2 separate regions of the Homo sapiens genome follow, and region 2 is linked to region 1. The links are contacts of gene promoters, found by promoter capture Hi-C in blood cells and fetal thymus (Javierre and others, 2016). All regions are on one chromosome and are shown on one strand. The core of a region is centred on a gene start or on the middle of the fragment in contact, and the rest is flanking DNA. Distances in the headings are between cores, read along the strand shown.

Region 1 (4,559 bases), core at 1,132-3,631:
TGGAAAGCGGCTGTTGATCAAAGTGTTTTCTGGAATGGAAATATTGATGACAGGAGATGGAAACATGGGGGCATTATCATTGGTATCCTTGACAATTATTTTTATTTTGATCAGCCTGAAGAAATCATTGGGGAGGATCACCACCTCAAGTTCAAAGAAACACTCATTCTCCTCAGCATATGAGGCGCCAGCACAGAGTTTTTCTCTGTCTATTCTGTTGGAGGTTGTGAAAATTTCCCCAGTGCTGCTGGAAACTTTCACCAAAGGGGCATCCCCAGCTTTAGAAACCAGTCTGTAGACAAGGCTGGCGCTGGTCCCTGTGGCAGCATTGATGTGAGAAATGTTCAGATCCTTTGGTATGTTTCCTATGGGCACATTTTCAGGCAATTCCTCTCTAATAGTGTAAATAAGTTCTTGAGCTATTGCGGAATCCAGCCTTAAACAGGCAATCAGAGCAGCCAACAGGTAAAAATCCCTCAGGTCCATGATAATGTATTTATTTTCTTTTCCTGGATTTTAGGGTTTAAAGGTTTCCACTGAGGAATGATGCACAAATTGCAAGAGGAAGCGTGCATGGACTGGAGGATGCATTATATCTCATCACTTATTTGGAGACAGCCGCTGTCAACACAATTGTATAGACAATATTATTCTTCAGTAAATAAAAACACACCGTCACAAAATATCACCACACATTTTCCCCTGAACATTAGTAAACATGGCAGTTTGCTCTGCCACTGTTTGCAAGTTTACTCTGTGGAGAAAAACACTAAATATCTCCTGCTGGTTGCATTTGCCGGGAGAAAATAAAATTTTCTACTTTTGAATTAAGGACAGCTGCTATTTTTACCTATATTCACGCACGTTGTTTTTCAGAATACTGTTTAATTCAAAACATGCATTCTTGTTCTCCTCTTCCCCTCCCCCTGTCTCACCCTCCTCCTAGCCTCTAACCTACCTCCCTCAGTCTTTTCAGGTGCAAGTGAAAAACACTAAGTATTTAGCTACGGTTCCTGCTAATTGCTTTGTCACATGTCAAATGTGTTTTCTTCTCTGCCCCACTGAGTCACCTATCTTTTCTAAAAAGGCTATCTTTTTCTTTCCTCCCAGTTCTTCAACTGCCTTCTAATACAATCTTACTGGGAAACGAGCATCCGGACATGCCGCTGCAGCGGCATCAGAAGCAATAGTCACCGGCCTCTACACATCCTCATTGCCTAAAAGCACAACAACAAGACTTCAGATTTCTTGCCCACAGCTTGCTCTCCTTTCTCCATATTGACAAATTATCCTCATTAGGATTCATAAACACATTAAAACTTTTAAAAATGTATAATAATATAGGATTCATTTTCCTAGAGGTGGAAGAGAGTGCCGAGATATAAGTGAAACGCAGCTAACATTCCCATGTAACATCACAATATTTTCTACTGAACATAAAAGAGAAAAAAAATGCAATTTCTTAATCCTGATCTCTGGTTAGAATATTAGTAACATTTGCCACACATAAATACTGCAACCCAATCATGCAGGTAAAAAGGCTTCTGCTTAGATAACTGCAGTTTAAATGGGTGCAAGGCTCCAGGCAGCTACCTACTTGAGTAGGACTGGTCAGTTCTCAGGCTCTAATCTTATCTGCATTAGGCTGCACAGTAGCTGATGCCCGCGATTAGTTCCGGCAGAGTGATGCAGGTAGGGATGCAGATACAGCCGAGTAGGTGAGCTCTGCCCCAACCGTCTACCCAATTACAAGCATCTTTCGCCTACACTGAGGACACATCTAAACACAGAATTTACAATTGTGCATGCGAAACTTTACACTTACGTTAGTTGCCTCAACCTTTCCCCTTTCCCAGTATGCTGCAGTTAGGAATGATTTGTTCCAACACATAGAAAGCCATGCATCTGGTAGCACCAGTTTGGGGAGAAATCAGAAGCAGCAAAATGTTTCCTCCTTGTAAAATGTGTTGCTTCGGGCTGGCAAATTAGCAACTCCAGAGAACAAATTCACGGATTTGTCGTTAGTCATTCTCTCCACATTTCGTCTCTCTTACCCACTGGGTCTGGGTTCTTCTGGGCATTTAGCACACACAACACATAGTTGCACTTCTTCAGCTCAGGGATATTTTCCACAGCAGCATGCATACCATTTCCATCCGATGCCAATACTGCTTAAGTCTCTAACTTCTTGTAGGAAACGTCAGAGTTGCGGTGATGATGATTCTCTGACAGCTATCCGGGTGACAGTTGCCCGAAAAATTCCTAATCGGTTATCTCTTGCGTGCTTCAGAGACTCTGAGGCGCTCCTTTCCGTCTCGCGTGCTCTCCCTCTCTCCCTTCCCCTCTGCCCCTCTCTCCTTCTCCCTCTCCTCTCTCTGAACTGAATTTCTTGATATAACTCTCAATAAGCCCAGAGGGAGGGCGTGACTGCCCAGGCCCCGCCCCCGGGCTCTGATTGGCCTGCATCTTGCGGCGCGGGCGGCCGCAGCCCGGCGCGAGGGAGGGAGCGCGGAACAAGGCGCTGACTGTCTCCCAGCCTCCCCTCCTCCGCGCCCCCTCGGCAGCAGCGAAAACCCGGAAATCTGATCCTGGCCCCAGGAGAGCCGGGTTCCATGAGGTGCACTGAGCATGCTCTGCAGGGTCCGGCGTGGGAGGGACGCGCTGGCGCTCCCCAGGCCCGGGCGGAAGCGGCGCTCGCAGGCGCTGAAAGCGAGCGACCCTCTGAGCCCGGGTGGTCCGGCGGGCAAGGGCGGCGCGGGAGACCCGCAGGGCGCGGGCGCGGATCCGGGGAACCAGGGCCACCGCTGCGGGCGGATGGGGGTCACCGAGGCGGCTCGTCTCCAGGCGCACACTTCGCACATCTCTTTGCTAAGTGAAGGGGCCAAAATGCACAGATGGGGGAGTCTACCCAGGAACAGAGGCGCGAGACGTATAGCCACCCCTGGGTTGGGAGCACGAGCCAGCAGATCCCCGGAGCGCGTTAAACGGACAACATGCCCGGTGCTGCAAATAGAGGCTTTTGCTGGCAGGGACATTGGAAAGAAGGGCGGAGAGGGAGTACAGCGAAAGGTGGGGACCGCAGAATTTGGAATCTCTGCGGAGACCGGAAAGAAAATTAATCGGAGCACTTCCTACATGCAGAGCCACGGAAACTGCCTTGGAAAGAGAAAGTGGCAGCGTCTGGGTCCCCTCGGTCAGCCCGGGCCAGTCGGCTGCGCGTGCGAAGTCTCCTCTAGCGGAGCGGGACCGGCCGCGGCGGTGGATCGTGGCGGTCCCTGCACTTCTGCTCCAGCCGCGCCTGGAAACCTGAGCCCGGACTCGCGGCTGCTGCAAAACCCGCTTCCAGCCCACCTCACTGCGAACTTTGCTTCCGAGGGGCTGGAAGGAGTCCCAGGCAGCTGTTTCCCAAGCTGTGGAACACTTCCTTTCCCCTAGGCACTTTCTGCTGATTCCAACTTTCTTTCCTGTGATTTTCGTCTTTTCCCGTGCATTTCATTTCTCCGACTCCAGCTCTGTACTAAATCCTCACAAGTTTCTCGTTTTCATACGGGAACTGGATGGAATGACTCCCCAAAAAATACAGCTTTATTTCTCAAATACTGACCCCCAAAGCACTATCTAGTAATATATTTGATTGATCTTTCAAAGTCAGTAAACCACAAAGGTTTGTGTAATGGCTTGTACTTAACGCCTGATACCTGAGTAAAGTTTGAAGCATTAACATAGGAACAGTTCACTTGGAACAAAAATTTATTTTCTGAATGACCTATAAAGGTTGTCAGAGAAGGTCTTAGTACATGATTGAATAACTTGGTCTAACTTACAGGAAGAATAAAGGGCATTTATTTTAAACCTGTGTGTTCCCCATTCTATAATGGGCTGCCTAGGCATTAAAGGCTCTTGACATACTTAAGCTCTTGACTGAGGGCGTGTTGGAGATTACCCCTTGTTTTTGAGTACAATAGTTTTGTTTGCTTTTTTTCTTTTTTAAGTAACATTTGTTTTTAGACGTTTAAATGAAAAGTAAAAAAAAAAAAAAACACCAATCAAGCTTACTAAGCCATATATTGAATAAATAATGACATGATTTAACCAACTAATTTGACATCACAATTTTCCAACATGAAATTGTAAGCTCTTTTTAATTCAAACTTTTCTGAGTTAATATTCACAGTTCAACTGCAGTGTCTAAAAGCCCACTGTAAAATCCATTAATCCCTTATATGTAAAATATAAAATACTTTCCTTGCAGATAATAGACTGATATTTTTTAAATAGCAAAGCAACTTTTATTATAGTAATATTTTGTATGATTAGAATATATAAAATTCAAGAATAGAAAGGACTTACAAGTATCCCAAAGTGAAAAGAAAAATATTGCCTCACAGAATAATGTCAGTGAATGAAAGGATGATTCTTTTATCTTACCACAGTAAACGATCATTTTGCCATTCACAAAATCTACAATTAAAGCTAGTACATTGTTCCAATTGTCACCTATTTTATGCACTGCACTGTTTTTAAATAAATGAACCATCATTGTGATACATTTACAATAA
Region 2 (4,559 bases), core at 1,490-3,989, 2.7 Mb before region 1:
ACTTGTTATACTTGGTACTGCTGGGCTGCATCACTTAAGTTTTAGTAGGTTGTGGTTTGGGTTTCATTTATCTCAAGGTATTTTCGAATTTTTCTTGGCTGCTTCTTTAACCCATTGGCTGTTTAAAAGTATGTTCTTGGATGGATGTGGTGGCTCACGCCTGTAATCCCAGCACTTTGCGGGGGCTGAGGCAGGCAGACCATGAAGTCAGGAGTTCAAGACCAGCCTGGCCAACATGGTGAAACCCCGTCTCTACTAAAATACAAAAATTAGCCAGATATGGTGGTAAGCACCTGTAGTCCCAGCTACTCAGGAGGTTGCAGTGAGCCAAGATCGAGCCACTGCACTCCAGACTGGGTGACAGAGTGAGACTCCATCTCAAAAAAAAAAAAAAAAGTATGTTCTTTAATTTTAATTTTATATATTTGTGAATTTCTCTGCTTTCCTTGCTTTCCTTGTGCTATTCATATCTAGTTTCCTTGTGCTATTGATGCCTAGTTTCATTTACCTTGTACTATTGATGTCTGGAAAAGATACTTAGTACTATTTCAGTCTTTTAAAATCTATTAAAACATTGTGGTCTAAATTGTGGTCTGTTGTAAAAAATGCCCATGTGTTCTTGAAAAGAATGTATGTTGTGCTTTTTGGTGGTGGTGGAGAGGGGGTAATTAGTGTTCTGCATATGTCTCTTATATCTAATTGGTCTGTATTGTTGTTAACGTTCTCTGTTATATTATTTATCTTCGGTCTGCTTGTTTTATCCATTACTGAAAGTAGGGAGGGCCGGGCACGGTGGCTCACGCCTGTAATCCCAGCACTTCGGGAGGCCGAGGCTGGTGGATCACGAGGTCAGGAGTTCAAGACCAGCCTGCCCAACATGGTGAAACCCTGTCTCTACTAAAAATATAAAAAATTACTTGGGCATGGTGGCACATGCCCACCCAGCTACTCCAGAGGCTGAGGCAGGAGAATTGCTTCAACCCAGGAGGCGGAGGTTGCAGTGAGCAGAGATCGCACCACTGCACTCTAGCCTGGGTGACAGAGTGAGGCTCCATCTCAAAAAAAAACAAACAAAAAAAGAAAGTAGGGTATTGAAGTCTACTACTATTATGGGCTGCTTTCTATTTCTCCTTCAATTTTGTCAAAATTTGCTTTATATTTTGGAGGCTTTGACATTTGTTGCATAAATATTTATAATTGTTATATATTCTTGATGAATTGACACTTTTATCATTATATAAGTTCTTCTTTGTCTCTTCAAACAGATTTTGACTTGAAGTTTATTTTTCTGATATTGTTATATCCACCTCTGTTCTTTTGTTATCTACCATTTGATAGGGATATCTTATCTATGTTCATCTTTTTGCTTTCAGCTTCTGTGGGTCCTCAGATCTAACGTATGTCTTATAGATAGCATAGAGTTGAATCTTCTTTTTAAATCCATTCAGCCAACCTTTCTTTTGATTGAGTAGCTAATCTATTTACATATAATATAATTATTAATAGAGAAAGACTTTTGTCATTTTGTTAATTGTTTTTTCTGTTTGTTTTACAACTTCTTTGTTCCTTCTCTCCTCTTGTACTGCCTTTCTTGTGTTTCATTGATATTTATTGTGACATGCTTTAATTTCCTTCTCATTTCATTTTGTGTATATTTGGCTAATACATTTTTTGTGGTTACCATTGCAATTACAAAACCATTTTAAAGTTATAACATTCTATTTTAAGCTAATAATAACTTTATGTTAAGCTAATAATTTTAATTACCTAGAAAAACTGTACTCCTTTACAACTTCATCCCATACTGTATATTATCAATGAAACAAATTATAACTTTACATGTTATATAACCATTAGCACAGATTTATAGTTTTTCACAATGATTTTGTCCTAATTTTATTTAAGAATTAAAAATGACCAAAGTTGCAATAATATAAGGTTACTATTTTTGTCCATGTTTTTATATTTTTTTCAACAACTTCGTAGAACAGGTCTAATTGTAGTGAACTTTCTCAGATTTTATTTATCTGGAGTAGTTTTAATTTTTCTTCAGTTTGTAAGACATAGCATTCTTGTTTGTAGATTTTATTAATTTATTTATTTTTCTTTTCTTTTAGTCCTTTGAATATATCATCTTCTCAGGAGAAATCTTGAAAGCCAGAGAGGAGAGGGTTAATATATTTAATCTTTTGGAAGCTTCCTTATAATGAAATACTTTTATCTTGCTTTCACAAGTCTCTTTGTCTTTGACAATTGGATTATAATATGTCTTTATGTGGGGATCATCAGTTTTATTCTAATTAAATTACATTGAGCTTCTTAAATTTTTATTACGATTTCTTTACTCAAAATTGGGACTTCTTTGGCCTTCGTATCTTCCAGTGAACTTTCTTATTATTTCTCTATTTTTTCTCCATCTGGGACTTATATAATGACTATATTTGTTGGCTTGATAGTTTCCCATAATTCCCTTACACTCTATTTTTCTTTGTTTTTTTGCTTTTTGCTTCTCTTATTTAGTAATTTCAAATGGCCTGTTTTTAGGTTTGCTGATTCTTTCCTCTGATCAAGTCTAGTGTTGAATCTCTGTAGTGAATTTTTTTAGTTCAGTTTGAGAATTATAAAACTCTTGGAACATGATAACTCTATCCAAACCTCTGTGTTAAGAGACTTGAACAAGCTCTAGCATAGTTTCTAGCAACATAAGATCTTGTTCCTAAAATGACTCCAGCTCCCTACACCATTAAAATCTCTGCCTGCTGCTGCTGTCAGAAATTTCTGAATAAAATCTGTTTTTACCACTTTAACCACTTTAGCTGTGCTTAAATAAGTTATAGTATTTAAAAAAATAGATTATTTTGTACAAATAATTTTTTACTAGTTACCGAATTTTTCAAGACTATATTTCATTTGGTTCTTTTTAAATAGTTTTTCTTTGCTGATATTCTTACTTTATACATGTACCATTTTTCTTATTTTAATTAGATATACAATGCTGCAGCTCTAATGTGCTCTAATTGCAGCTCTAATGTGCTACGTTGCCCATTTTCAGCAGCTTCCAAACTGTTGTGGACTAAGTCATGTGAGACAGAAACCTGTCCTTCATGCAGCTCCCAGTAAAGTCAGAATGTTAGGAGCTCAATGAACTCTACTCTTTTTCTATCCTAAGGGCGGACTCCTGGCATGGGAAGTTTCCTCCCAGTTGCACCTCACTGCGACACATCAAATGAGGGGCATGGACAGGCATGCAAATATCACAAATAATCTCACCCCGTTTTCTGGGAAGCTTTCTTGATTTTATGTTGACCTGGGTACTATAGCTTTCCAACTAGTCCAACTAGTTCTCACAAAGGTACTCTAATTTGTTTAATTTTTTTTTAATCTCAATTTATCTACTGGGGGATATAAGCCTACAGCTTCCTAGTTTTTCGTCTTATCAATGTCTTCCCTTTTACTCCTTTTTGTTTAAGTGACTTTTGATTTTTTTAATTATAAATTCATATGAGTATCAAGTTGAAACGTTAAAACATTTCAAATGAAAAGCGAACATAGTTAAATTTTTTAAATGTATGACGGTGAAAAGAATTAAAATTATGATTTTTTTTCTCAATGGCAATAGATAATTTTTATCTATTATAAAATGATGAGTATGGTCTTTACATAATATAAACTAAAGAAATATGTTGAAAAATATAAAAGTCACTCAAGCACAGCACTGTAAGATGTTCTGTTCATTATGTAGGGATTTTGCTCTCTATATTTTTTAACAATATACAGTTTTTTTGCAATGTATCCTAATTAATACTTTCCTCTTTGTCTTTTGGACTAATTTTACCAGTCATCTTTATCTCGAAGAACAATATATTGAAGGCATTGTTTCCATGTCAATATATGCAGATGTTCATCTTTATTAATAATGACTAAACAGTACTCATTGTGTGGATATATAATTATATGATCCACCTATTAATAGATTTTTTCCTTTCCCTCTGAATTTTACTAAAATAAACAAAACTAATAAGAGATAACATTATATATATCTTTATACAATTGCTCAAATGTTTTCTTAAGAAAATTACCGGAGGAGGACTTTTAAAGTTAAAAGGAATATATACTAAATATATTCAAAAAATTACAGTCCTAAAATGTCTCATCAGTTTACTTTCCTATTTGAAAGTTGGAGTATTATTTGTTCTTTCATACCTATCCCAATAATGTTACATATCAATTATTTTGGTGCTTGAAAAATAATTACTTTCAATTGACATTTACTTTATTGTCCTTGATTTAAGACATATTTGCATAAGTTTTAGTGAATGTTCTTGTCTAGCTTATATTTACTGTTCTGTTCCTTTGAGTACATTTATTCTAGTGAAGTCATTTCTTATATTAACATACTCATATGACACGTTAATTATTTAGGACTGTTTTATTTATGTTTGTAATTTTTATATTTTACGTTTTTAATGTTTAAGATGTGTTTTTAATAAATTTTATTTTTTAGGTATACAGCCAAACTGAGTGGAAGGTGCGGAAATTTCCCATATACTACCTGCCCC

The links. The method cuts DNA at HindIII sites, captures the fragments that hold promoters and counts their contacts. A CHiCAGO score of 5 or more calls a contact.
Region 2: a fragment that was not itself captured here is called in contact with the fragment with the promoter of PCDH9 in region 1 in 3 of 17 cell types (M2 macrophages, total CD4 T cells and M1 macrophages); the score reaches 6.6 in M2 macrophages.

Annotation. Positions count from the first base shown.
Region 1 is chr13:67,227,955-67,232,513 of GRCh38, forward strand. PCDH9 (protocadherin 9) reads right to left here and starts at 2,382. Exons shown (of 5, transcript NM_203487.3): 1 at 1,826-2,382; 2 at 1-621. The coding sequence starts at 486. RefSeq lists a silencer at 2,653-2,792. The HindIII fragment of the contact is 4,939 bases long and covers 1-4,049 here.
Region 2 is chr13:64,557,407-64,561,965 of GRCh38, forward strand. No RefSeq gene overlaps it. Among named protein-coding and RNA genes, the nearest start is that of LINC00355, 480 kb to the left of the region's middle. The HindIII fragment of the contact is 1,090 bases long and covers 2,195-3,284 here.